Regions from separate parts of the Homo sapiens genome. Here all the other regions are linked to region 1. Evidence: promoter capture Hi-C in human tissues and cell types (Jung and others, 2019). All regions are on one chromosome and are shown on one strand. Each heading gives the region's core, a stretch centred on a gene start or on the middle of the fragment in contact. The rest is flanking DNA. Distances are from core to core; before and after follow the strand shown. Region 1 holds the start of ZNF442 (zinc finger protein 442). Region 2 has its middle 9.1 kb from the start of ZNF69. Region 3 has its middle 6.4 kb from the start of ZNF700. Region 4 overlaps ZNF700 (zinc finger protein 700). Region 5 overlaps ZNF763 (zinc finger protein 763). Region 6 overlaps ZNF791 (zinc finger protein 791).

Region 1 (4,427 bases), core at 1,075-3,574:
AATTCTTTTCCCAGCAAGGAATATTAATAATTGAGACCCTTCCAGGTGTGGTGGCTCATGCCTGTAATCCCAGCACTTTGAGAGGCCGAGGCGGGTGGATCACAATATCAGGAGATCGAGACCATCCTGGCTAACACGGTGAAACCCCTTCTCTACTAAAAATACAAAAAATTAGCCGGGCATGGTGGCACGCGCCTGTAGTCCCAGCTACTTGGGAGGCTTAGGCAGGAGAACAGTGTGAACCCAGGAGGCAGAAGTTGCAGTGAGCCGAGATTGTGCCACTGCACTCCAGCCTGGGGGACAGAGCGTGAGACTCTGTCTCAAAAAAATATATATAATAATAATAATTGAGACCCTGGGGAAGGAATGCATTCCTGGGGGTAGGTCTATAGATGGCTGCTCTGCGAGTATCTGTCTTAATGCAGTTGAGATAAGGACTGAAATACGCCCTGGTCTCCTGCAGTGCCCTCAGGCTTACTAGGATTGGGAAGTTCCAGCCTGGTAAATTCTAGTCAGACTGGTTGTCTGCTCTCGAACCCTGTTTCCTGTTAAGATGTTTATCAAGACAGTGCATGCACAGCAGGACACAGACCCTCATCAGTAATTCTAATTTTGCCTTTGCCTTGTGATCTTTTATTGCCCTTTGAGGCATGTGATCTTTGTGACTTACTCCCTGTTCGTACACCCCCTCCCCTATTAGAATCCCTAATAAAAACTTGCTGGTTTTGCAGCCCAGGTGGGCATCATGGAACCTGCCGATATGTGATGTCACCCCTGGAGGCCCAGCTGTAAAATTCTTCTCTTTGTACTCTTTCTCTTAATTTCTCAGATGGGCCGACACTTAGGGAAAATAGAACCTACGTTGAAATATTGGGGGCTGGTTTCCCCGATAGTAGTCACTCTTCAGCTGGGTGTGGGTTCTGTCTTTGAAGTAATCTTTTGTTGGAAAGAGAATTCCAGAGGTGCCTGGTACCTAACAAGATCCAACCCCTGAAGCTTCTAAGGAAATATATGACCAAATAAGAGAGCATGGTGTGTGCTTAATAAGTATTTAGGTAAATAAATGTGCACAGGCCAGGCGTGGTGGCTCACGCCTGTAATCCTAACACTTTGGGAGGCCGAGGCCGGCGGATTGCCTGAGCTCAGGAGTTCACGACCAGCCTGGGCAACATGGTGAAACCCTGTCTCTACTAAAATACAAAAAAATTAGCTGGGCATGGCAGCGTGCACCTGTAGTCCAGTGTGCTACTCGGGAGGCTGAGGCAGGAGAATTGCTTCAACTTGGGAGGCGGAGGTTGCAGTGAGCCAAGATTGAGCCACTACAGTCTGTCCTGGGTGACAGAGTGAGACTCCGTCTCCAAAAAAATAAAATAAAAATAAATGTGCATAAGGCATGGCAGTGTAGTATGGGAAAGGAAAGGGAGTGGAAGTTCACAGCACATTCTGAGGCTGTATTTTAAGATGAGAGGTAACATCTATGCAGTTTATCTCGAAGTTATTATCTTGAGATCAGGAGGGGAAAGAGGAAAAGGGAAAGAAGAAGAAAAAAAAGGTTTAAAACGTGGTTTGAGACTCAGCTGCTAAGCTGCTGGTTACACACTCTGGGACTCAACTTCAGGAGTCAGAATCTGCCTTCTAAGCTTGAAAATATGTTTAACCTCCTGAAAGGGGGTTTCCTGCTGAACTGTGGCTGAAATTTCTCTGAACTAATTCAGGTTTTTTCTTTTCCCTTCTTTTGATTCCTTTATAGAAGATTACTGCCATATAATTCCAGATTTTCCATGCATTTAACAATTTTATTTCATTGTTGATGTGTTTTTATTTTCTGGTCTGAGAATGAGTAGATTGGGAGATAAGGTGGGAGAAAGGCTTGACCATGGAGCCAGCAGTCTCATCCTAAATTCCTGATCCCTGGAGGACACCAGGCCTTCCCTCCTGCTTCAGTGTGGTTTGTGTGGCCTGGGCCTCCCCTACCGCTCTGAGGCCAGGGGATGGCTCCACTGGGCAGTGAGTCTCGAATTCCCAGCACACACTTGTGGGTCCCCGTCCAGGAAGAAGGAGCAGGAAGAGCCCATTGAGTACAGGCAGGAAATTCCGCTTAAATGCAAATGTCCCCTGGGAGGGGTCAGGTCACAGCGAAGGGAGGAAGCCCACCCTATCAAGGGCTGTGTCTGGAACCGCTTCATCTCGCTCCACTCAGCCGTGTAAGATCCTTCTTCTGTCAATCAGTTCCCTGGGGGGGCGGAATTTGGAGCTCTACCCAATCAGTGTTGGGGGCGAGTTCTTGGGAACTGCCAGTCAGGCGCGCTGCCGGGAGGAGGGTGGAGCTTTCTACACCCCTCTGAGCTCCCGCTCCTGGCTCTGTAGCTGAGAGAAGCCCTGGCAGGTCAGTGGCAGGCACTGTCACGCTGAGTCCTATGCTGGCAGCGGGGAACCTTGGGGAGAACACGGGACACCGCGGAAGCCGGGAAATGGTGAGTGTGCGGGGCCCGGCGTCCTGGGGCAGGGCGAAGGACTGGTTGGAACCGGCCAGAACCGGCTGTGGCGGGACCCGGGCGTCCCCGCGGCGACTGCGGGGTCTGTGGACCCGAGTTCCCCTGGCCCAGCCGGCCTTCAGTCCCCTCGGCCGCGGGGTGGGAGCTGGGGGCTGGGCCGGCAGCCGGGACCCCGGGCGTCCTGTCCCGTTTCTGCGCAGCAACTGCGGCCCCGGCTCCCGCGCCCTCTCTGGGGCAGCTCCATGCCCACAGCTCCGCGTCTTCCCAGATTGTGCGGCTGTAACCGGCACAGGTTCGCGGTCCGAGTCACTGCACCGAGACTCCAAGGCCTGCAGCAGAAACAGTTTAATAGGGGGAGAGGAGAGAAGACCCCAGTTCCGCCTCCATGAGAGGTTTGGGGATGGGGGTGTTTAGGGGTCTGGACAGGGGCGGCTGAAGTGTGGGGTCGCTGGTTGGTGGGGAAGTGACAGGCGAATCCTGGGACGGGAGGTGAAGAAACCGCATTCTCCTGCTGAGTGGGTTCCCTCGTGGGGTTTTCACCCTGCTTGGCGCCAGCCTTTCCGTTGGAATTCAAGATCTGAGAAAGAACTTGGGCAACTCGAGCAGCTCTCCGAGATCTTATCCCCAGGCACAATGCAGAAGCCGGCGGTCAGTGTCTTCTGTGACCTGACTCTCAGGAAGGCGGCCCCCGCGAGGCAGTGGGGCTCAGGGTACCTGGTTAATATCTAACTGCAATCAGAATCCAGATTCTTGCGTGGGGTTTGTGCACGGGAGGAGCTGTGGTCTGCGGGGTCCCCAGTCCCTTCTTTTCTTCCCAGGGTGACTGATTCCTCTTCGAGTTTTTCAGAGATGGGGGTAGCAGGGTCTCAAATCCACTACCCTGTTCCCTCATTCTAACTCCTCCTAGGGGTGGTAGTAACTCCCTTGGTTTCCAGAGCCTTACGCAGGCTAACTTTCCCTCCTCAGTTCACAGCAACATCATGAACTCCTCCCTCCTCCGCCCCACCCGTGCTAAATTTCAGAGTCCCAGTATTTTAATTTTCATTTTGTTTTCAGAGAGCAATGGATGGCTTCTTTTTTTCTTTCTTTCTTTTTTTTTTTTTTGAGATGGAGTTGTGCTCTTGTTGCCCAGGCTGGAGTGCAATGGTGCGATGTCGGCTCACCGCAACCTCCGCCTCCCGGGTTCAAGAAATTCTCCTGTCTCACCCTCCCGAGTAGCTGGAATTACAGGCACCCACCACCACACCCGGCTAATTTTTTGTATTTTTAGTAGCGACGGGGTTTCACCATGTTGGCCAAGCTCATCTCGAACTCATGACCTCAGGTGATCCGCCCGCCTCGGCCTCCCAAAGTGCTGGGATTACAGGCGTGACCACCGCGCCCGGCCGGCTTCTTAAAAGATTTGTGTTCCTGAACATTTCACATGTGAGGAAGCAGAGAATAACCTGACACTGCACTGTAAAAAACAAAAAAACAAACAAAAAAACCTTTGTGTCTCTCCTTTTCTTTCCCCTGGGTACGGATACCTAATCAACATTGAAAGTCCCCTTTAGAAACTTTATGGGGTGATGTGTTCTCAGCCCACTCTCTGCCTTTTCCTGGTTCTGTTTCAGAACTGCCTGGGGTTGACCCAAGATACACACAGCTGCCCTGTCTCTGGGAGGGTCCAGTGAATATCAGTCCCTGGGTCATTTCTCCCAGTGAGCAGCCTGAGGTGTTGGGGTGGGGCCTCACAGAGAACAGCTGGATGCCCTGGGTGGGATGGGAGGAATATTCTGGTATACCATTTCTATAAAAAGCTAACCCTTGGGACAATCACCTTGTTCTTCCCCAACCCCAGTTTCCATTCCTTGGGGACACACGGCTGGTCAGCCAGTTGAATGATTGTATTTGGGGGAGAAGACAGAAGTGATCTCTTCCTTCCTGACTCTC
Region 2 (4,427 bases), core at 1,788-4,287, 490 kb after region 1:
GATATAAAATGCTCCCGGAATAAAAGCTTGGTGCCGTGAAGTAAAACCAGCACTCAGGCAAAATTTTAATTCTCTCAGCAAGGCAATTTACTACTGCAGAAGGGTGCCACTCACGTCAATCAAGATCACAAGAGCACAGAGAACAAAGGAGACCAGGAGGTTTTTATCCTTAATGCGGTCCCTATCTCTGTGTTACTCCCCCATGGGCTGGGGTCGGACCGCACAGTCTGAGCTGACCCGATTGGCTGCTTGTACATATTTTTCTAAATATAGAAGGGGAGGGGGATGTGAGGTACAGAGGTGGAGCATGTGAGATGTGCAGTTTTGGGGGAACAATGGGTACAGGTAACCAAGGGAACAGATGTGAGTTATTGATTAGAGCTGATGGGAACGGGGTAGGCTGTTTTAAAGTAACTAGGGGCAAGGAGGAACAGGAAAGTTGAGTTTGAGAACAAAAGACGAGGAAGTTAGCAGGCTAAATCTTTAAAGAAAAACTTAAAGAAATTCACTGTATCTTACAAATCTGACCCCAGTGGCCCCATGCATGTCAAACCCCAAACCCTGCCCAGAAGACAGCCCCAGGCTCCAGAGGTACAACACCAGAAAGGACAGAACCCCCACACATACGTGTGCATGTGGGTCTTCTGCTTTCCAGGGCTCTTCAGCTTCTCGGAATCCGCACTCCTTCTGGAGCTGCTCTGAGCAATTGGAGGCCACCTGTAGGGGAGGGCGGGCTGCCCGGAAGCCCCCAGGAAAGGCTCCTTTCCCTTCCTTTGCAGGCTCCACACTGGCCTCAGCGTTGAGTCACCGGCCTCGGGCTCTGCTGCCCCCTGCAGGTTATTCAGCTACTTCTCACCCCATTGATCAGTTCCATGACACAAACACCCTCAATCCCATTGTGTGAATAAGACACCAGCAGAGTCCCTGCTCTCCTCCTATGTTTATGTATAAAGTGGGGAAGGAAAATTCTAAGATAACTTAAGTGCATTTAAAAGATTTCCAGATCGTGGTGGAGGTGGCAGCTGAGGGACGCACGTTCAGTGACACTGCAGTACCTCCGGGCCTGGCTGGTTGGAGAGAGGGTGGAGAGCTGGAGATGAATGTGGATATATGGAGGGAGCAGCCCTGGGAACCGGGCTCTGCAGCAGCGCGGCTCTAGGGCCTGGAGCCCGGGGGAGCAGAGATGATGGGGGCTCCTGGGACAGGACGCTTGGGGAGAAGAGAGTCAGGCGGTTTCCATGGGACAGGGGTGCTGTGGCAGCTGGTGTGGGCCTGTGGCTATCATAACTAAGCCCGATTGGGACGTGAAAACTTGGATTCCGTGGGAATTTATGAAGAGGAAGGCTCTGATGACAAAGAAGTCATCGATGAGGAGAGGGATTAGGGTCACTGGCAAGCTCGCCCCCTTATGGAAAGAAAAGTGAACGTTCAGCTACTGCGGCAAAATGGGGTCAAAGGATGAGACTCTCACTGTCAGGGAATAAATTGCTGCAGAACTCTTAGAGATTGCAAAGACCTTCAAACAACAGCCTGGGAGGCCGGGTGCCATGGCTCACGCCTGTAATCCCAACATTTTGGGAGGCCAAAGTGGGAGGATCGCTTGAAGCCCGAGATTGGAGACCACCCTGAGCCGTGAAGTGAGACCCTCCCATCTCCATAAAAAATTTTTAATTACCAAGGAGAAGTGTGTGTACCTACAGTCTCAGCTACTCAGGAGGCTGAGACAGGAGAGTCACTTGAACCCCAAAGTTTGAGGCTGCTGTGAGCTATAATTGGGTACTGCGCTTCAGCAAGACACTGTCTCAAAACAAACAAACAAAAAATTAAAATCCCACCAAACTCCCTGGGGAAACCCTGTACCCCTTTGATGGTCAAAGTGTAAAATACAGCAGGTGGTGACATTTCCTTATGGACTGGATCATTCTAGCCACGTAAGAGGCTTGGCCTACTGAAGATTTACCAAGCGGGATCACCTCCTTGCAGTCAGTGGAAAAAGCCCCCGGTGAAACCATCCCTTTAAACTTTATCAAATTCATCAGGGAGGATGGGAGGAGGAAAACTTAAACCAAGCTTGCGGCACCTTCAGCATTAATCATCAAGTCAGCTTGTTCTCTGACCTTCCTCATATTTGTTTCATACCTAGTGTCCTAGAATCCCATAGACCCTAAATGATAGTTCCCGTTAACTGCTCTATACATAACAATTTGAACATTAGATATTTTCCCTTATAAATATTCCTTTTTGAGTTCTGGGTGCATTGGTTCATAACTGTAATCTCAGCACTTTGGGAGGCTGAGGTGGGAGGATCACTTGAGCCTTGGAGTTCAAGAACAGCCTGGGCAATAGAGTGAGACTCCATCTGTACAAAAAATTTAAAAACAGCCGGGCATAGTGGCATGTGCCTTTACTCCCAGCTACTTGTGAGGCTGAGGCAGGAGGATCCCTTGAGCCCGAGTTTCTACAGTGAGCTATGATCCCACCACTGCACTCCAGCCTGGGAAACAGAGCCATACTATTTCTCTTAAGAAAAAAAATCCAGACATTTGTTGGTCTTTGGATTATTGGAGAGCATTTATCTGACACTTAGCCCAATGTTTTAGAAAGGGGCACTTTGGGACTGGGACACAGCTCTGAAGGAAGCTTTGGACAGGTTAATGTGTTAGTATGGCAGGCACAAGCCTCAGGCACACCTTTAGAGGGTAGAGCTGTGACTTGGGATGATATAGTTGCTGCTGAGGGTACAATTTGGGACTTACGGCAACCACAGTGTGGTAAATCAGTCCCTTTAGGATTGTGGTTGTAATTATGACATGGAGATGAAACCAGACACTCTTGAGTCAGTGCAGGCAGTATATAATGCTTTCCAGCAGGTGGAATCCTTAAGAAAGAGCCTTTGCATGACTGTGAGAATGGGAGTACCATGCCCAGCTAATTTTTTTGTATTTTTAGTAGAGATGTGGTTTCACCATGTTGTCCAGGCTGGTCTTGAACTCCTGAGCTCAGGTGATCCACCCGCCTCAGCCCCACAAAGTGCTGGGATTACAGGTGTGAGCCACCGTGCCTGGCCTCCCACTAAGTTTCTTTCATTTGCCCTGGCACAGTTTCTCATGCCTTAATCCCAGCATTTTGGGTGGCTGAGGTGAGTAAATCGCTTGAGCCCAAAAGTTTGGGCTATGACCACACGGGGCAACATAGGCCTAGTCTCTATTTTTATTAAAAACAGAATATACACACACATATGAATGAGAGGCCGAGTGTGGTGGTTTATGCATGTAATCCTAGTGCTTTGGGAGGCCAAGGCAGGTGGATCACCTGAGGTCAAGAGTTCGAGAACCACCTGGCCAACATGTTGAAACCCCATCTCTAACTAACAGTACAAAAATTATCTGGATGTGGTGGCACGCACCTGTAAACCCAGCTACTTGGGAGGCTGAGGCAGGAGAATCACTTGAACCTGGGAGTCAGAACTGGCAGTGAGCCGAGATTGCATAATTGCACTCCAGCCTGGGTAACAGAGCAAAAACTCCATCTCAAAAAAAAAAGCAAGAAAAAAAAAAAAGAAAAACTTTCTTTTTAGTCCCTAGTTGGTAGGCTATCACTAATATCACCAGCAGTTGTCTATGAGGCAAACCTGTTCTCACAATGGGTCCAAAAGGAAAAGTAGATTTGGAGACATTACAGGTAGATCCAAATGCAGCACTTGTACGACAGTATATGGTTAATGTGAGGACTCTTGGGGTGACTTAGCTCAGGCTAGTATAACAAAGTACCATGGACTCAGTTTCTTAAACAGCAGAAATTTGTTTTTCACAGTTCTGAAGCTTGGGAAGTCTGAAATCTTGCTGCCAACAATTTTGTTCCTAGTGAAGGCTATCTTCCTGGCTTGCAGCTAGATGCCTTCTTGCTTTGTCCTTACATGCTGGAGAGGCAGAGTTCTCTCTCTCTCTTACTAATCCCATTGTGAGAGCCCTCCTTTATAAATGTATGTGATCTCCTAAAAGGTCCGTGTCCAAATATGACCCTGTTGGGGTTTAGGACTTGTAACTATAAATTTTGTTTTTGAGACAGGGTCTCCCTATGTGACCCAGGCTGGTTTTAAACTCCTGGGCACAAGGGATCCTCCTGCCTCAGCATCCAAAAGTACTGAGATTACAGGCGTGAGCCACCGCACCCGGCCTCTAAGTATATATTTTGAAGAGAGTAAATGCAGGGCATGCCAAGGGGTAAACAGAAGTCCAAAAAGAGGCTTTGGAGACGATGTAATCAGACAGGACTTTATCACATAGCAGATGGGGAGCAAGAGTCACAAAGGAGTGAGGTCCAATTTCAGAATGGCAGAGAGAAGGGACATCGAGGTAGCTGTATGATTGCATGAAGGATGAAAATGCATGCCAGGGCCACTACATGGAAAAGTATTGTAATTATCT
Region 3 (4,427 bases), core at 1,243-3,742, 450 kb after region 1:
TTTGGTTGTAATTATGACATGGAGATGAGACCAGACACTCTTGAATTGAACAAGTTCTGGTAGTATATAATGCTTTCCAGCAGGTGGAATCCTTAAGAAAGAACCTTTCTGTGACTGTGAGAATGGGACTACCATGCCCGGCTAATTTTTTGTATTTTTGGTAGAGATGCGGTTTCACCACGTTGTCCAGGCTGGTCTTGAACTCCTGAGCTCAGGTGATGCACCCCCCTCAGCCTCCCAAAGTGCTGGGATTACAGGTGTGAACCACCGCGCCCAGCCTCCCACTAAGTCTCTTTCATTTGGCCTGGCACAGTTTCCCATGCCTTAATCCCAGCACGTTGAGTGGTCGAGGCAGGTAGATTGCTTGAGCCCAAAAGTTTGGCCTATGACCACCTTGGGCAACATAGTGAGAACTAGTCTCTATTTTATTAAAAAGAGAAATACACACACACATATTTATATACATAAAACAGGGCGAGCATAGTAGCTCACGCCTGTAATCCAAGAACTTTGGGAGGCCAAAGTGAGTGGATCACCTGATATCAAGAGTTCAAGACCAGCCTGGCCAACATGGTGAAACCTTGTCTCTAACTACCAATACAAAAATTATCCGGACATGGTAGTGCACACCTGTGATCCTGGCTATTCTGGAGGCAGAGGCAGTAGAATCGCTTGAACCCAGGAGGCAGAAGTTGCAGTGAGCTGAGATCACGCCATTGCACTCCAGCCTGGACAACAGAGCACAAACTCCATCTCAGGAAGAAAAAAAAAAAAAAAAAAGTAAAAGTTCCTTTTTTGTCCCAAGTCGTTATGGGCTATCACTACTATCACCAGTAGTTGCCTATGAAGCACACCTATTCTCACAATGGGTCCAAGAGGAAAAGTAGAAGATTTGGAGACATTCCAGGTAGATCCAAATGCAGCACGATATCATATACGATAGTATATGATTTATGTGAGGACTCTTGGGATGACTTAGCTGAGGCTGGTATAACAAAATACCATGGACTCAGTTTCTTAAACAGCAGAATTTTTTTCTCACAGTTCTGGAGCTTCGGGAGTCCAACATCTTGCTGCCAGCAATTTTGTTCCTAGTGAAGAGTGTCTTCCTGGCTTGCAGCTAGATGACTTCTTGCTGTGTCCTCACATGCTGGAGAGACAGAGTTCTCTCTCTCTTCTTACTCATCCCATTGTGAGAGCCCTCCTTTATAAATGTATGTGATCTCCTAAAGGGTTCGTGTCCAAATATGACCATGTTGGGGTTTAGGGCTTGCAAGTATAAGTTTTGTTTTTGAGACAGGGTCTCCCTGTGTGGCCCAGGCTGGTTTTAAACTCCTGGGCTCAAGGGATCCTCATGCCTCGGCCTCCCAAATACTGGGATTACAGGAGTGAGCCACCACACCTGGCCTCCAAGTATATATTTTGAGGAGAGTAAATACAAGACACGCCAAGGGGTAAACAGAAGCCCAAAAAGAGGCTTTGGAGACGATGTAATCAGACAGGACTTTATCACATAGCAGATGGGGAGCAAGAGTCACAAAGGAGTGAGGTCTAATTTCAGAATGGCAGAGAGAAGGGACATCGAGGTAGCTGTATGATTGCATGAAGGATGAAAATGCTGCCAGAGCCACTACATGGAAAAGTATTGTAATTATCTAGGAAAAAATGAGAATAAAAAAGAAAAACAAGGGGCCAGGCGCGGTGGCTCACGCCTGTAATCCCAGCACTTTGGGAGGCCAAGGTAGGCGGATCACGAGGGCAGGAGATTGAGACCATCCTGGCTAACACGATGAAACCCCGTCTCTACTAAAAATACAAAAAATTAGCCGGGCGTGGTGGCGGGCGCCTGTAGTCCCAGCTACTCAGGAGGCTGAGGCAGGAGAATGGCGTGAACCCGGGAGGCGGAGGTTGCAGTGAGCGGAGATCGCACCACTGCACTCCAGCCTGGGCGACACAGCGAGACTCCGTCTCAAAAAAAAAAAAAAGAAAAACAAGTAATCATAATGAAAATGGAAAACAGAAAATGAAAAACAGAATAACCTTGGTTAGTATGCAGTTGTTAAAGATTTTAAATAAAATATTTGTCAGAAACATGTACAGATATCTTGGTTTTAAAAAAAAAACCCTAATTGCTGAGCATGGTGGATCATGTCTGCAATCCTAGCACTTTGGGAGGCCGAGGCAAGAGGATTGATTGAGCCCGGGAGTTCGAGACCAGCCTGGGCAAAACCGTGACACCCTTGTCTCTACAAAAAATTTTTGAAAATTAGCTGGGCAGAAAGCCGAGGTGGGAGGATTGCTCAAGCCCAGGAGCTTGATGCTGCAGTGAGTGACCAGAACACTGCACTCCAGCTGGGCTACAGAGCAAGGATGTCTCAAATTAAAATAAAAGAAAACGAGGAGAAAAAGAGAGATAACTACAAATTAGTCAAATGTAAGAGGATGACTGGATACTGCTACACAGAAGATGAAAGATTATATAAGAAAAATGCTCAACCAATGGCAACAAATAAAAAGCAATAAATAATCACACAGAGATTCTGTTTAAGAGTAAATGGGCGACGAAAAGTGAGTTAGATAATTCAAAGTGTTGGCAAATCACAAGAATAAAGGCACGTGCATGAAAGGTGAGATGGTTAATTCATAAGTTACATTCATACTGTACTGACATTTCCTAGTAAATTTGAATTTACCCATAATCTACAACCCAGCAATTATTTCCCAATGTGTAAAACTTTGTGTTGTATTTCCAGTTAGGAATAAAAACAAGAAAAGCATTGTCAATAAGATCAAGAGATAGGCTGGGCATGGTGGCTCATGCCTGTAATCTCAGCACTTTGGGAGGCCGAGGCGGGTGGATCACCTGAGGTCAGGAGTTCGAGACCAGCCTGGACAACATGGTGAAACCGTCTCTACTAAAAATGCAAAAATTAGCTGAGTGTGGTTGCAGGTGCCTATAATCCCAGCTACTCAGGAGGCTGAGGTAGGACAGTTGCTTGAGCCCAGGAGACAAAGGTTGCAGTGAGCCGAGATCCTGCCACTGCACTCCAGCCTGGGTGACAGAGCAAGACTGTCTCAAAAAAAAAAAAAAAAAAGCAGGGTGTGGTGGCTTGTGCCAGCAGTCCCGGCTACCCAGGAGGCTGAGCCAGGAGAATCTGGGAGGCAAGTTGCAGTGAGCCGAGATCACGCCACTGATCCAGCCTTGGCCACAGAGTGAGATTCTATCTGAAAAATAGACAAACAAACAAATAAATAAATTCTCAGATGCGTGGGGAAAGAGCAATTCCATGGCAGCAAGATTCTGTAAAAAAACAAAAGGGAGGCAGCTCAGGTAGGCAGCCTGCCTCACCCACAGCTCACAAGGAAACCCACACTCCAATAGTTACACATTTTCAAGCTTAGGAACCACTTGGACCGTGGAGACACAGGCCAGGCTGGCCCACTCCTAGGTAGTGTGTGAAGGAAATGTGAGCAGTCAGAAAATTACTTCTGGGAATTCCACACACACCCTGCTGGCCCCTCCCCACAGTGTGGACACAGTCCTTCCACCAGGGTCTCAATGCCCACCAAAGACCACTCGCTCACTGTGAGTCAGTGGAAGGTTCTGACCTATGCTGTCTTTTTGCCTGACATCAAATGTGTGGTGCTTGCTGAACACCAATCAATTCTCCAGCACTAAGCAGTTATGTAACCATGCAATTCAGAAGCCACCCAGAGTTAGCAGAGACTCCATGAGTTCCTGGCTCACCCAACACAGCCCCACTTGGCAGATGCAAGTCAAAGCCCCAGGGGCCACCTGTACTTCTCAGCAACTGCATCTAGACCTGGGTCCTGTACAACACCTTACTCAAGTTCCATAATTTGATAGAACTACCCACAGTTCACTTACATTTACCCACTTACTATGAAGGATACAACTCAGGACGAGTCAAATCAAAGACATGGATAGAAAAAGAGTAAGGGGTGTGGAAAGGAGATGGGGGTGGGTGGGCAATCCTGAAAATGGCTGTGATTCATGAAATCCCCCATCCTTTGTGTTGTGCAAGAGCACCTTACTACAATGAAACAAGCTTCCCATGATGACTTAGATGGTGCTACGTTTGTTACCTATGACAAACCAGACACCCACTAGATATTCCAGTATTTACCTCACAAACCATTAGGTGAACAGTTTTCTCTTTAGTGATCTTTAGTCAAAATGAAATATCTATCTACCAAAGCATGCTTCAGTTTCTCTCCTTCCTCCAGGTCCCTGAACTTTTTTCTTTTTTTGAGACAGTCTTGTTCTGTAGCCCAGGCTGGAGTGCAGTAGCATGATCTTGGCTCACTGCAACCTCCGCCTCCCTGGTTCAAGTGATTCTCATGCCTCAGTCACCAGAGTAGCTGGTGTTACAGGTGTGTGCCACCACACCCAGCTAATTTTTATA
Region 4 (4,427 bases), core at 856-3,355, 410 kb after region 1:
AATAATTCCTTAACATCAACACAGAGTAATATTAAAACCTTATTAATTGTGTAAAGTGGAATTCTGAAAGCTTACCTTTGAATACATTTCATTTTCTCTGTTACACATTGAAGAAAGTGTGATGTTATGGTATGTATTTGTTTTCATCCAGGGTAATGTTGGGTGTGTTAGGCCTCTGGGGAAGGCCCCTGACCTGCTGCCCTCTTTCCACTCAATGTTTCCCCACCTTTTTTATTGTGGGTCTTAAAACCCTCCCATGAGAGGGTCCCACTGACTTTGTGAAGAGTTTTAGTCTTGGAAATACTCATGATATTCCCTATCTGTAGCTGTTTGTCTCAAGTTAGTTCAGAATAAACCACGAGTGTGTGGATTGCTAAAATAACTTATTTCTAAATGCTGCAAGTCAAAAATTGCAGATTTCCTTGTCTAACCAGATGCAGAAAAGCATATGTTATAAAGGATCAGGACTCCAACAGGAACCAACATCACTGCCTTCTAAAATTAGTGGCCTTCCTGGCATATGAACACCCTTTGGGCCTGTGCTCCAGTGTCTCTTTGGGTTGCTCCTTGGGCTCTTTGTGAAGGATCAAGACACCCCCGTAGTCTAGGCCAATGTCAGGCTCTCCAGTGTGTCCTGTTCATCACCCTCACCCTGCACTTCTATTGTTACTGTCTTTGGCTATTCCAACACTGTGCTTGCATCCTGTGGAAAGTCACATTTGGGGTCAAGTGGATGGTGGTGTTTCTACTCTTTGGTGAAAAGTATCAGGGTGCATTTGGCCTTCAAGGCAGAAGGATGAGACAGGGGTTAGATCCAGGTGCACCCAACTCTTTTTTAATTTTTTTTGTGTGTGTGTGATGGAGTCTCGCTCTGTTGATCAGGCTAGAGAGTGCAGTGGCGTGATCTCAGTTCAGTGTAACATCTGCCTCCCAGGCTCAAGTGATTCTCCTGTCTCAGCCTCCTGAGTAGCTGCGATTACAGGCACACACCACGATGCCCAGCTAATTTTTGTATTTTTAGTAGAGATGGGGTTTCACCATGTTGGCCAGGCTGGTCTTCAACTCCTGACCTCAAGTGATCCACCTGCCTCAGCCTCCCAAAGTGCTGGGATTACAGGTGTGAGCCACTGCACCTGGTCAGGTGCCCCCATCTCTGCCACTGCCCTGTCTTCCCTGCTGTGAGTCACTTTGTGTGATCTGACAATCAATGACTCCACCCTTCACTGATGAGGATGCATTATCTGAGACTGGGTATGTCATCTCCACACACAGATAGGGTTTGGTCAATGATTGATGCTGCATCCTTTGGTGCCTGGATTTTGACAGTGTTTTTTAAATAAGGGTTTCTGAAGAGCAGCTTCATTGGTACCTTAAGGGAAGTGACTGAATTGTTCTATGCCATTGCATAATATATAAAAGTTACTTTTCCACGTTGCTGTTAACTTTACACTGCTGAGATAAGCAGGCTGTTGACAAGTTAGCATCAACAGCACATTATCAGAGAAAGAAAGGCTTGTATTCAGACAATTTACACAACTGTATTAGCTTCCTATGACTTAGTAAAACAATTTGAAAAAATATAGCTTTATAAGGCATAAATGAATTTGTATGTTTTAACTAAGGTACTTTCTAGTAAACAGTGCCCATACATTTTAGGAAATATTTTAGTCTTTAGAGAATAAGTAAGGCAAAACCCGGTCCAAGAGTCTAGAGCTGACCTCCCCTCATCACAAGGCCAAGTCTTTTTTTTTGAGATGGAGTTTCACTCTTGTTGCCCATGCAGGAGTGCAATGGCGCCATCTTGGCTCACTGCAACCTCTGCCCTCCCCCGAGATTCAAGCGATTCTCCTGTCTCAGCCTCCTGACTAGCTAGGATTACAGGAGCATGCAACCACACCTGGCTAATTTTTGTAATTTTAGTAGAGATGGGGTTTCATCATATTGGTCAGGCTGGTCTCAAAGTATTGACCTCAGGTGATCCGCCTGCCTCAGCCTCCCAATGTGCTGTGATTACAGGCGTGAGCCACAGTGTCTGGCCAAGGCCAAGGCTTTTACCATTGGAGAGACACAAGTCACATACCGGGCATATGAGACGATGCTCCTCAGTGACCATGATGGATCAGGACAAAAAAAGAGAATATTTTATAACTATATTTCTAAATGTGATAAAAGAAAACATATTTCAAATCATAAACATGACCAAAATTTTTCTCTTCTTACTAATGTGACTTGTAATTCTCATACATCCCACAGTCATTTATGACTTGTGGTCATATTTACCACTACAGTATATTACACCCTTGCTGACAGCAGGTATGGCACTGGTGGTTTTGGGGAAGAAGGCACTCAGAGGTATATGAGATAACTTTTGGCATAATGAGTGAATGAAAAATTAGGGTTGAGGCCGGGCCCAGTGGCTCATGTCTGTAATCCCAGTACTTTAGGAAGCCGAGGTGGGCAGATCACGAGGTCCGGAGTTTGAGACCAGTCTGGCTAATATGGTGAAATCCCATCTCTACTAAAAAAATACGAATACTAGCTGGGTGAGGTGGGGCACGCCTGTAGTCCCAGCTACTCAGGAGGCTGAAGCAGGAGAATCACTTGAACCTAGGAGGCGGAGGTGGCAGTGAGCTGAGACTGCGCCACTGCACTCTATCCTGGGCGACAGAATGAGACTATCAGAAAAAAAAAAAACAAAAACCAGCAAAATTAGGGTTGAGATAAAAAATAAGTACATAAGCATGAAAAGTAAAATTTCTTTCTTTTTTTTTTTTTTTTTTGGAGATGGAGTCTTGCTCTGTTGCCAGGCTGGAGTGCAGTGGTGTGATCTCTGCTCACTGCAACCTCCGCCTCCCAGGTTCAAGCGATTCTCCTGCCTCAGCCTCCCGAGAAGCTGGGACTACCGGTGCGCGCCACCATGCCCAGCTAATTTTTGTATTTTTAGTAGAGACAGGGTTTCACCACGTTGGTCAGAATGGTCTTGATCTCTTCACCTCGTGATCCGCCTGCCTTGGCCTCCCAAAGTGCTGGGATTACAGGCGTGAGCCACTGTGCCCGGTGCAAAAAGTAAACTTTCCATGAGGAAAAAGATGCCTGGCATTTTATCCACATGGTAATACTGACTCACAATGTCCAAATAATAACAATGTAACATTATAAGCTTGATCTAATACATAAAACCAATGGGATATTTTATTATACCTTCTTATTTAAAAAGAATAACATGTTAGTATACTTATGATAATTGTTTACATTAATTATCTGTATTCAAAGAATCTTGGCAGATCTGAAGGCTTTCCCATACTGCTTACATTCATAGAGTTTCTCCCAAGTGTGAACCCTTCCATGCCGTTGAAGGTGCGAGGCACATCTGAAGGCTTTCCCACATTGCTTACATTCATAGGGTTTCACTCCAGTGTAAGTCCTTTCATGATATCAAACGGAACTAGAATACACTCATAGGGTTTCTCTCCCGTGTGAGTCCTTTCATGACATTGAAAAGAAGTAAAAGGAATGAAGGCTTTCCCACACTGCTTACATTGATAGGGTTTCTCCCCAGTGTGAGTCCTTTCATGATATCGAAAAGAACTGGAAAATGTGAAAGTTTTGCCACATTGCTTGCATTCATAGTGCTTCCTTCCAGTGTGAGTCTATTCATGTCCATAAAAGGAACCAGGCTAGCTGAATGCTTTCCCACAATCCTTACATTCATATGGCTTCTCTCCCATATGAGTCCTTGCGTGTATATGCAAGGAAGAAAAATAATTGAATGCTTTTCCGCATTCCTTACATTCATAGTGTTTCTCTCCAATGTGTGTTCTTGCATGTATTTGAAGAATCTTGGCAGATGTGAATCCATTCCCACAATGCTTACATTCATAGGGCTTCTCTCCTCTGTGCTTCCTTTCATGTATTTGAAAAGAAGAGAATTTACAGAATGCTTTTTCGCATTCCTTACATTCATAGGGTTTCTCTCCAGTGTGAGTCCTTTCATGCATCTGAAGGTTTGAGGCAGATCTGAAGGCTTTCCCACATTGCTTACACTCATAGGGTTTCTCTCCAGTGTGAGTCCTACCATGCTTTCGAAGGTTTGAGGCACAACTGAAGGCTTTCCCACATTGCTTACACTCATAGGGTTTCTCTCCAGTGTGAGTCCTTTCATGCATTCGAAGGTGTGAGGCAGATCTGAAGGCTTTCCCACATTGCTTACACTCATAGGGTTTCTCTCCAGTGTGAGTCCTTTCATGATATCGAAGGGAATTGCAACATCTGAAGGCTTTACCACATTGGTTGCATTCATAGGGTTTCTCTCCAGTGTGAGTTTTTTCATGTGTTTGAAATGACTTGGCAGAATAAAAGCCTTTCTCACATATACTACATTTATAAGGTCTTTCTCCAGAGGGCATTCTTATGTGTTTTTCTGTCCT
Region 5 (4,427 bases), core at 867-3,366, 380 kb after region 1:
GCCCTCTGTCCTTGTGATAAGGCAGGGGTCTAATTGAGCATGGTTCATGGTAGCTTGGAATTCCTGGGCTCAAGCCATCCTCCTGCCTCAGCCTCCCAAATAGCAGGAACTACAGGCAAGTGCCACCATGCGCAGCTAACATTTTTTGTTAATGAGGTGATGTATCACCATGTTGCCTTGGCTGGTCTCACTCCTAGCCTCAAGCAATCATCTGGCTTTGGTCTCCCAAAGGGCTGGGAGTAGAGGTGTGAGCCACTGTGCCTAGCCTATGTCACATTTAAATATTATGTTTTTAGAGAAAATTTTCTAAGAGTAAATAAATGTGATGCTGGTCTTATTTCTTTTATTTGCATATTTTAAACATTTTCAGCCGGGCACAATGGCTCACGCCTGTAATTGCAGCACTTTGGGAGGCCAAGCCAGGCGGATCACCTGAGGACAGGAGTTCGAGACCAGCCCGACCAACATGGAGTAACCCCATCTCTACTAAAAATTCAAAATTAGCCAGACGTGGTGGTGGGCGCCTGTAATCCCAGCTACTTGGGAGGCTGAGGCAGGAGAATCACTTGAACCTGGGAGGCGGAGGTTGCGATGAGCCGCGATTGAGCCATTGCACTCCAGTCTGGGCAACAAGAGTGAAACTCTTGTCTCCAAAAAAACCAAAACATTTTCAGGCAGTATAAGATTTTCTAGAGAGAGAATGCTTTATCTTGTGAGGGAAACTTACCTTAGATTATTCCTGAGATTTTTGTACTGATCTTCAATGATCTGGTCTTTCCATTTTTTTCTTAAAATACAGATCCATAAAAAATAGTCCTGATTATAAAATTATGGGGTTTTTTTTGGAGATGAGGGTCTCACTCTATCACCCAGGCTGGAGTGCAATGGCATGATCACAGCTCACTGCAGCCTCAACCTCTTGGGTTCAGGTGATTCTCCTACTGCAGCCTCTCAAGTAGCTGGGATTACAGGTGCATGTCACCATCCTGGCTAAAAAGTTTGTAGAGATAGGGTTTCACCATGTTGCCCAGGCTGTTCTCAGACTCCTGGGTTCAAGTCATCCACCCACCTTGGCCTCTCAAAGTGCTAGAACCACAGGCATGAGCCACCATGCCCAGCTATTATAAAATTAGTTTAAAAATTATTAGATTCTATGTTCATGGCTCACTGCAGCCATTCCTGATTTATCAAAGTTTTCCCTGTCCATATTCCAAATCACTGAACAGCACTGAAGAGCTAGAAACACTTGTTCTTTAATAAACTGAGGGAAGTAATATTGTCACGTGATAGTTTGAATGTATGTTCCCACCCAATGTCATGAGGAACTGCAATCCCCAGTGTTGGAGGTGAGTCCTGATGGGAGTTGTTTGGGTCAGGGGGACCTATGGCTTGTTTCTCTCATGGCTTGTTGCTGTCTTTGTGATAATCAGTGAGTTCTAGTGAGCTGCACCTTCCTACACCACTCTCTCTGTCTCACTCCTGCTTTCGCCATGTGACTGCCTGCTCCCCGTTCACCTTCCGCTATGATTGAAAGCTTCCTGAGGCCTTCACCAGAAGCTGAGCAGATGCTGGTGCCATGCTTCCTTTACAGGCAGATGCCAGGCAGACGTCACTGTGAATCACTGTGCCCAGCAATGAATAATTCTTTACAAGGGGACAAACCCTGTCTGGACATGGTGACTCATGCCTGGAATCCTAGCACTTTGGGAGACTGAGCTGTGAGGACTGCTTGAGACAAAGAATTAGAGAACAGCCTGGGCAACACAGCATAATCCTGACTCTATTACTTAAAATTCTAAATAAAAGTCTGAAAAGCAGCATTTCCCACCTATTCTCTCTGAGGGAGCCTTCATCTACATAACAAGGTCTCCTTTGCTAGCCAAGCTTCTTCCTTTCCTTTAGCATAATCTGTCTTGCCATTAAAAATGACTTCCCCACCAAACCTGGAATTTTTTTGGCCATGCCAAGTCTGCATTTTTCCTGGCCTCAGAATGGTATGTAAGCTTTTTTGTCTTATTGTTGGGTGGGTCCTCATTCTGAAGGCTCCCATATATACATGTTAAATAAATTTGTATGACTTTTCTCCTATTAATTCGCCTAAGTTCCTTGATCTGAAAATTTTTTTCCTGTTTTCTCACCTTATTTTATTAAAAAAAGTTCAAAAACAAGCATATCTAAAAATGAGCATTTTCATATCCCAGAAATCAAGGTATTTTCCATAGATAACCAGAAAATGCTATTTAGTAATTGCCTAACATCAACACAGAGTGATATTAAAACCTTATTGTGTAAAGTGGAATTCTGGAAGCTTAGCTTTGAATACATTTCATTTTGTCTGTGAAACATTGAAGAGTGTGTGTGGTGTTATGATATGTATTGGTTTTCATCCAGGGTAATAATGTTGGGTGTGTTAGACCTCTGGGGAAGGCCCCTGACCTGCTGCCCTCTTTCCACTCTAATGTTTCCCCACCTTTTTGATTGTGGGTCTTAAAACCCTCCCATGAGAGGGTCCCACTGACTTCATGAAGACTTTTAGCCTTGGAAATACTCGTGATATTCCCTATCTGTAGCTGTGTGTCTGAAGTTAGCTCAGAATAAACCACAAGTGTGTAGATTGCTAAAATAACTTACTTCTAAACACTGAAACTCAAAAACTGCAGATTTCTTTGTCTAAGCAGATGCAGAAAAGCAGAAGTTATAAAGCATCCGGACTCAAACAGGCACCATCACTGCCTTCTAAAATTAGTAGCCTTCCTGGCATATGAACACCCTTTGGGCCTGTGCTCCAGTGTCTCTTTGGGTTGGTCCTTGGGCTTTTTGTGAAACATCAAGACACCTCCATAGTCTAGGCCAATGTCAGGCTCTCCAGTGTGTCCTGTTCATCACCCTCACCCTGCACTTTCATTGTCACTGTCATTGGCCATTCCAACATTGTGCTTGCATCCTGTGGAAAGTCACATTTGGGGTCAAGTGGATGGTGTTGTTTCTACTGTTTGGTTAAAAGTGTCAGGGTGTATTTGGCCTTCAAGGGAGGATAAGGCAGGGGTTGGATTCAGGTGCACCCAACTCTTGTTTTTTTCATTTTGAGACAGAGTCTTGCTCTGTCGACTAGGTTGGAGAGTGCAATGGTGTGATCTCAGTTCAGTGTAACAACCACCTCCCAGGCTCAAGCGATTCTCCTGCCTCAGCCTCCTGAGTATCTGGGATTACAGGGATTACACCACGATGCCCAGCTAATTTATCTATTTCTTAAGGTTTCACCATGTTGGCCAGGCTGGTCTTGAACTCCTGACCTCAAGTGATCCACTCTCCTTGGCCTCCCAAAGTGCTAAGATTACAGGTGTGAGCCACCGTACCTGCTCAGGTGCCCCCACCTCTGTCACTGCCCTGTCTTCCCTGCTGTGAATCATGCTGTGTGATCTGACAATCAATGATTCCACCCTTCACTGATGTGGATACATTATCTGGGACTGGGTATGTCATCTCCACACACAGACAGGGTTTGGTCAGTGATTGATGCTGCATCCCGTGATGCCTGGACTTTGACCTTAGGGAGTTTTAAATAAGCGTTTCTGAAGAGCAGCTTCATTGGAACCTTAATGAAAATGAATTTTTCCATGCCATTGCATAACATATAAAAGTGACTTTTCCATGTTGCCATTAACTTTACATGGCTGAAATAAACAGGCTGTTGACAAGTTAGTATCAACAGCACATTATCAGAGAAAGAAAAGGCTGTATTTAGACAATTTACATTATTATTGTAATTTATTAGCTTCCTGTGACTCACTAAACCAACCTGAAAAAAATAGCTTTCTAAGGTATAAATGAATTTCTATGTTTTACCCAACGTACTTTCTGGTAAACAGCACCCATACATTTTATGAAATATTTTAGTCTTTAGAGAATAAGGCAAAAACAGCTCCAGGAGTCTAGAGCTGACATCCCCTCACCACAAGGCCAAGTCTTTTTTTTTTTTTTTTTTGAGACGGAGTTTTGCTCCTGTTGCCCAGGCTAGAGTGCAATGGCACAATCTTGGCTCACTGCAACCTCTGCCCCCCAGATTCAAGCGATTCTCCTGTGCCAGCCTCCCAACTAGCTAGGATTACAGAAGCAGGCCACCACGCCTGGCCAATTTTTGTAGTTTTAGTAGAGACAGGGGTTTCATCATATTGATCAGGCCAGTCTTGAACTCCTGACCTCAGGTGATTCACCTGCTTTGGTTTCTATCCAGTGTGAGTCCTACCATGTTTTCGAAGGTGTGAGGTAGATCTGAAGGTTTTTCCACATTGCTTACACTCATAGGGTTTCTCTCCAGTGTGAGTCCTTTCATGTTATCGAAAAGAAGTGAAAGAAATAAAGGCTTTCCCACATTGCTTACACTCATAGGGTTTCTCTCCAGTGTAAGATTTTTCAGGTATTTGAAA
Region 6 (4,427 bases), core at 943-3,442, 260 kb before region 1:
AACACTGGTCTTTAAAAGAAAAAAAAAATACACTTCAGGCCGGGTGCGGTGGCTCAAGCTTGTAATCCCAGCACTTTGGGAGGCTGAGGCGGTCGAATCACGAGGTCAGGAGATTGAGACCATCCTGGCTTAACACGGTGAAACCCCATCTCTACTAAAAATACAAAAAAAATTAGCTGGGCATGGTGGCGGGCGCCTGCAGTCCCAGCTACTGGGGAGGCTGAGGCAGGAGAATGGCGTGGACCCGGGAGGCGGAGCTTGCAGTGAGCCGAGATCACACCGCTGAACTCCAGCCTGGGCAACAGAGCAAGACTCCGTCTCGAAAAAAAAAAAATACACTTCAGTTTACTCATGAATCAAGACATCAAGAGAAAGAGAAAAGTTTTACTAACTGATTTAATGAGAAAACACAACCTTTTAAACTTTTGACCACTGCTTAAAGAGTACTTACAGAATTATCTCACTTCCAAGACTTCTTGGAAAAGTAGTTAAGTTACAATTCATAGTCCAGAGATGTACTTGAAGAATGAGCCAGTGATAAAAAATTTTTAACTTTTTTTTGGTGTGTGGGATGGAGTCTTGCTCTGTTGCCCAGGCTGGAGTGTAGTGGCACAATCTCAGCTCACTGCAGCCTCCACCTCCCAGGTTCAAATGATTCTCCTGCTTCAGCCTCCCAAGTAGCTGGAATTACAGGTGCATGCCACCACGCTCAGGTAATTTTTGTATTTTTAGTAGAGATGGGGTTTCACCGTCTTGGCCAGGCTGGTCTCGAACTCCTGACCTCAGGTGATCTGCCTGCCTTGGCCTCCCAAAGTGCTGGGATTACAGGCATGAGCCACCATGCCTTGCCTTAACTTTTATATCGTGTGTGATGAATTTATATCATGGTGTGAATTTTCTGGAGCATTTTACAGGCAGAGATTGCTTAATCATGGGTATATGTTCTGAGAAACGTGTTGTAGGTGATTTCCTCATGGTACAAACATCACAAAGTGAACTTACACAAATCTAGATGGTATAGCTACAACACATCTAGACTATATGGTACAGTCTATTGCTACTAGGCTATAAACCATACAACATGTTGTTGTACTGAACACTGTAGGAAATTGTAACAAAATGTTAAGTATTTATGAGTCTAAACACAGAAAATACACAGAGTAAACATGCAGTATAAAAGATAAAAAAGGATGCACCTGCATAGGACACTCCATGAACATAGCTTGCAGGACTAGAAGTTGCTCTGGGTGAGTCAGTTGAGTGGTGAGTGAATGCGAAGGCCCAGGATGTTACTGTACACTAATGGAGAATTTATAAACACTGTACACTTGGACTACACTACATTCATAAAAACATTTTTTCCTCAATAATGAATAAACCTTAACTTACTGTACATTATTTTCTTTATAAACTTATTTTTAAAAACTTTGTAATAATTTAGCTTAAAACACATTGTACAGCTGTACAAAAATATTTTATGTCCATATTCTATAAGCTTTTTCTATTAAATTTTTTTAAACTATTTTTGTTAAAGACTAACTAAGACACAAACACACATTAGTGTAGGACTACACGGGGTGAGGATCATCAATATCATTGTCTTCTGCCTCCATGTTTTGTCCCGCCAGAATACGTTCAGGGGCAGTCCTGCACATGGAGCCGTCATCGCCTATCATAACAAAGTTTTTCCGGGAATATCTCCTTAAGGACCTGCCTGAGACTGTCTTACTGTTAAAAAAACACAGGAATACATTCTAAAACAGGATTGTAAATATATAAACCAGTAACTTAGCCATTTATTATCAAGTATATATTGCACATCTGTGCTGTAATTTTTTTTTTTTCGAGACGGAGTCTCGCTCTGTCACCCAGGCTGGAGTGTAGTGGTAGATCTCAGCTCACTGCAATCTCCACCTCCCGGGTTCAAGCGATTCTCCTGCTTTGGCCTCCCAAGTAGCTGGGACTACAGGCACACCAGAACGCCCAGCTAATTTTCGTATTTCTAATGGAGACAGGGTTTCATCATGTTGACCAGGCTGGTCTTGAACTCCTGACCTCAACTGATTCTCCCACCTCAGCCTCCCAAAGTGCTGGGATTACAGGTATGAGCCACTGTGCCCAGCCAATTTTTTTTTTTTTTTTTTGATACAGTCTCACTGTCACCCATGCTGGACTGCCATCACGTGATCTTGGTTCACTGTAGCCTTGAACTCCTGGGCTCAGGCAATCCTCCTGCCTCAGCCTCCCATGTAGATGGGACTACAGGGTGTGCTACCACACTTAGAAAATGTTTTTATTTTTTGTAGAGACAGGGTCTCACTAGGTTGACCAGAGTAGTCCTGGCATCAAGCAATCCTACTGCCTTAGTCTCCCAGTGTTGGGATCACAGGTGTGACCATGCCCAGCTGTGTTGTACTTTTTTTTTTTTTTTTTTTTTGAGACAGAGTCTCGCTCTGTTGGCCGGATCTCAGCTCACTGTCAGCTCGGCCTCCTGGGTTTATGCCATTCTCCTGCCTCAGCCTCCCAAGTAGCTGGGACTACAGGCGCCCACCACCACGCCCGGCTAATTGTTTGTATTTTTAGTAGAGATGGGGTTTTACCGTGTTAGCCAGGATGGTCTTGATCTCCTGGCCTCGTGATCCGCCCGCCTTGGCCTCCCAAAGTGCTGGGATTACAGGCGTGAGCCACCGTCCCCGGCCGCTGTCTTGTACTTTTATACAACTGAAAGTGCAGCACGTTTACACCAGCACCATAAACACTTAAATAATGTGCTGCACTATGGTGTTACTACTGCTACTAAATTGCGGTTGATAGAAATGTTTTAGGTGTTATATAATCTTATGGGGCTACCAACCTATATGGTCCATTGCTGACTGAAACATGATTATGTGGTACCTGACTATACATGAATCATCTTGTATCTCGCTTTCTATATTACTTACATTGACAGGATTTCTCTCTTCAGTGGGAATTTTCACAACTTTGAAAGCATCTGTTAGAATTGAAAACTTTCTCCTATTTCTCACATTTATAGAGTTTCTATCGATTGTGCATTCTCATATGTTTTTTTAAGGATGTGGACACACTGAAGGCTTTTCCACATTGCTTACATTCAAGAGGTTTCTCATAATTGTGAATTCTTGTATGTCTTTGAAAGGAACTGTGAAGACTAAAGGCCTTCCCACATTCTTTACATTTATAGGGTTTCTCTCCAGTATGCATTCTCATGTGTCCTTGAAAGCTTGTGGGATAAATAAAGGCCTTCCCGCATTCCTTACATTCATAAGGTTTCTCCCCAGTGTGAGTTCTTTTATGTATCCGAATGTAACTAGAACAACTAAAGGCTTTTCCACATTGTTTACATTCATAGGGTTTCTCTCCAGTGTGAGTTCTTTCATGTGTTCGTAACGCACTAGGAAAAATGAACACCTTCCCACAGTCCCTACATTTATAAGGTCCGTCTCCAGTGTGGGTGATCATGTGTCTTCGAAAGTTCTCAAGAGAAATGAAGGTTTTTGCACATTCCTTACACTCATAGGGTTTTTCTCCAGTGTGATTTCTCTTGTGGATTTTCAAATCTAGAGGATAATTGAAAGTTTTCCCACATTTTTTACATTCGTAGGGTTTCTCTCCAGTGTGAGTCCTTTCATGTATTCGAAAGTAACTGATTCTACTAAAGGCTTTCCCACATTCTTTACACTTATAGGGTTTCTCTCCAGTATGCACTCTCACGTGTACTCGAAAGGCTGGGCGTGCACTGAAAGATTTCCCACATTCTTTACATTTATAGGGCTTCTCTCCAGTATGAATTCTTTCATGAATTTGAATGGAGGTGGAACATCTGAAGGCTTTACCACATTGTTTACATTTATAGGGTTTCTCTCCAGTGTGAATTCTTTCATGTACTCGTAAAAAACTGGGAAAAATGAATGCCTTTCCACATTCTTTGCATTTATAAGGTCTATCTCCGTTGTGTGTTATCATGTGTGTTAGAACACTTGTGTGGGAAATGAAGGCTTTCCCACATTCCTTACATGCATAGGGTTTCTCTCCAGTGTGAGTTCTTTCGTGTACTCGAATAGAACTGGAACAACTGAAGGCTTTCCCACATTGTTTACATTCATAGGGCTTTTCTCCAGTGTGAATCCTTTCATGAACTCGAAGCGAACTGGAACAACTAAGAGCTTTTCCACATTGCTTACATTCATAGGGTTTTTCTCCAATGTGAGTCCGCTCATGTCTTTGAAAGGGCTGGTGATATATGAAGGTTTTTCCACATTGTTTACATTTATAGGGTTTTTCTCCAGTGTGACTCCTTTCATGTCTTTGAAAGGATTTGAGATAACTAAAGGCTTTCTCACACTCCTTACATTTATATGGCTTCTCAAATAGCTCGTATCCAGTGTGAGACCTCATGTGTCTAGTAA

The links. Contacts are between HindIII fragments. The study calls those that stand out against the background at their distance.
Region 2: a fragment that was not itself captured here is called in contact with the fragment with the promoter of ZNF442 in region 1 in 2 of the 25 tissues and cell types used here (dorsolateral prefrontal cortex and spleen).
Region 3: a contact is called between a fragment that was not itself captured here and the fragment with the promoter of ZNF442 in region 1, in 7 of the 25 tissues and cell types used here (adrenal gland, aorta, dorsolateral prefrontal cortex and 4 more).
Region 4: a fragment that was not itself captured here is called in contact with the fragment with the promoter of ZNF442 in region 1 in 2 of the 25 tissues and cell types used here (IMR-90 fibroblasts and mesenchymal stem cells).
Region 5: a fragment that was not itself captured here is called in contact with the fragment with the promoter of ZNF442 in region 1 in 4 of the 25 tissues and cell types used here (IMR-90 fibroblasts, lymphoblastoid cells, mesenchymal stem cells and 1 more).
Region 6: a contact is called between a fragment that was not itself captured here and the fragment with the promoter of ZNF442 in region 1, in 4 of the 25 tissues and cell types used here (dorsolateral prefrontal cortex, heart left ventricle, lymphoblastoid cells and 1 more).

What each region holds. Positions count from the first base shown.
Region 1 is chr19:12,363,580-12,368,006 of GRCh38, reverse strand. It overlaps ZNF442 (zinc finger protein 442), which reads left to right and starts at 2,324. Exons shown (of 6, transcript NM_030824.3): 1 at 2,324-2,474; 2 at 2,764-3,205; 3 at 4,336-4,427. The coding sequence starts at 4,376. RefSeq lists an enhancer at 2,411-2,510 and a silencer at 2,611-2,790. The HindIII fragment of the contact is 16,775 bases long and covers 1,319-4,427 here.
Region 2 is chr19:11,876,456-11,880,882 of GRCh38, reverse strand. No RefSeq gene overlaps it. Among named protein-coding and RNA genes, the nearest start is that of ZNF69, 9.1 kb to the left of the region's middle. The HindIII fragment of the contact is 3,977 bases long and covers 1,049-4,427 here.
Region 3 is chr19:11,916,458-11,920,884 of GRCh38, reverse strand. It overlaps a transcript of ZNF69 not described here. Among named protein-coding and RNA genes, the nearest start is that of ZNF700, 6.4 kb to the left of the region's middle. The HindIII fragment of the contact is 7,505 bases long and covers 1-4,427 here.
Region 4 is chr19:11,949,504-11,953,930 of GRCh38, reverse strand. ZNF700 (zinc finger protein 700) reads right to left here. Exons shown (of 4, transcript NM_144566.3): 4 at 3,168-4,427. The coding sequence ends at 3,678. It also overlaps a transcript of ZNF69 not described here and the pseudogene VN2R21P. Among named protein-coding and RNA genes, the nearest start is that of ZNF763, 13 kb to the left of the region's middle. RefSeq lists a silencer at 4,013-4,242. The HindIII fragment of the contact is 4,503 bases long and covers 1-4,356 here.
Region 5 is chr19:11,979,940-11,984,366 of GRCh38, reverse strand. ZNF763 (zinc finger protein 763) reads right to left here. Exons shown (of 4, transcript NM_001367172.2): 4 at 3,750-4,427. It also overlaps a transcript of ZNF69 not described here. Among named protein-coding and RNA genes, the nearest start is that of ZNF433-AS1, 5.5 kb to the left of the region's middle. The HindIII fragment of the contact is 4,224 bases long and covers 5-4,228 here.
Region 6 is chr19:12,627,873-12,632,299 of GRCh38, reverse strand. It overlaps ZNF791 (zinc finger protein 791), which reads right to left. Exons shown (of 4, transcript NM_153358.3): 4 at 1-4,427. The coding sequence ends at 3,040. Among named protein-coding and RNA genes, the nearest start is that of ZNF791, 19 kb to the right of the region's middle. The HindIII fragment of the contact is 6,065 bases long and covers 1-4,427 here.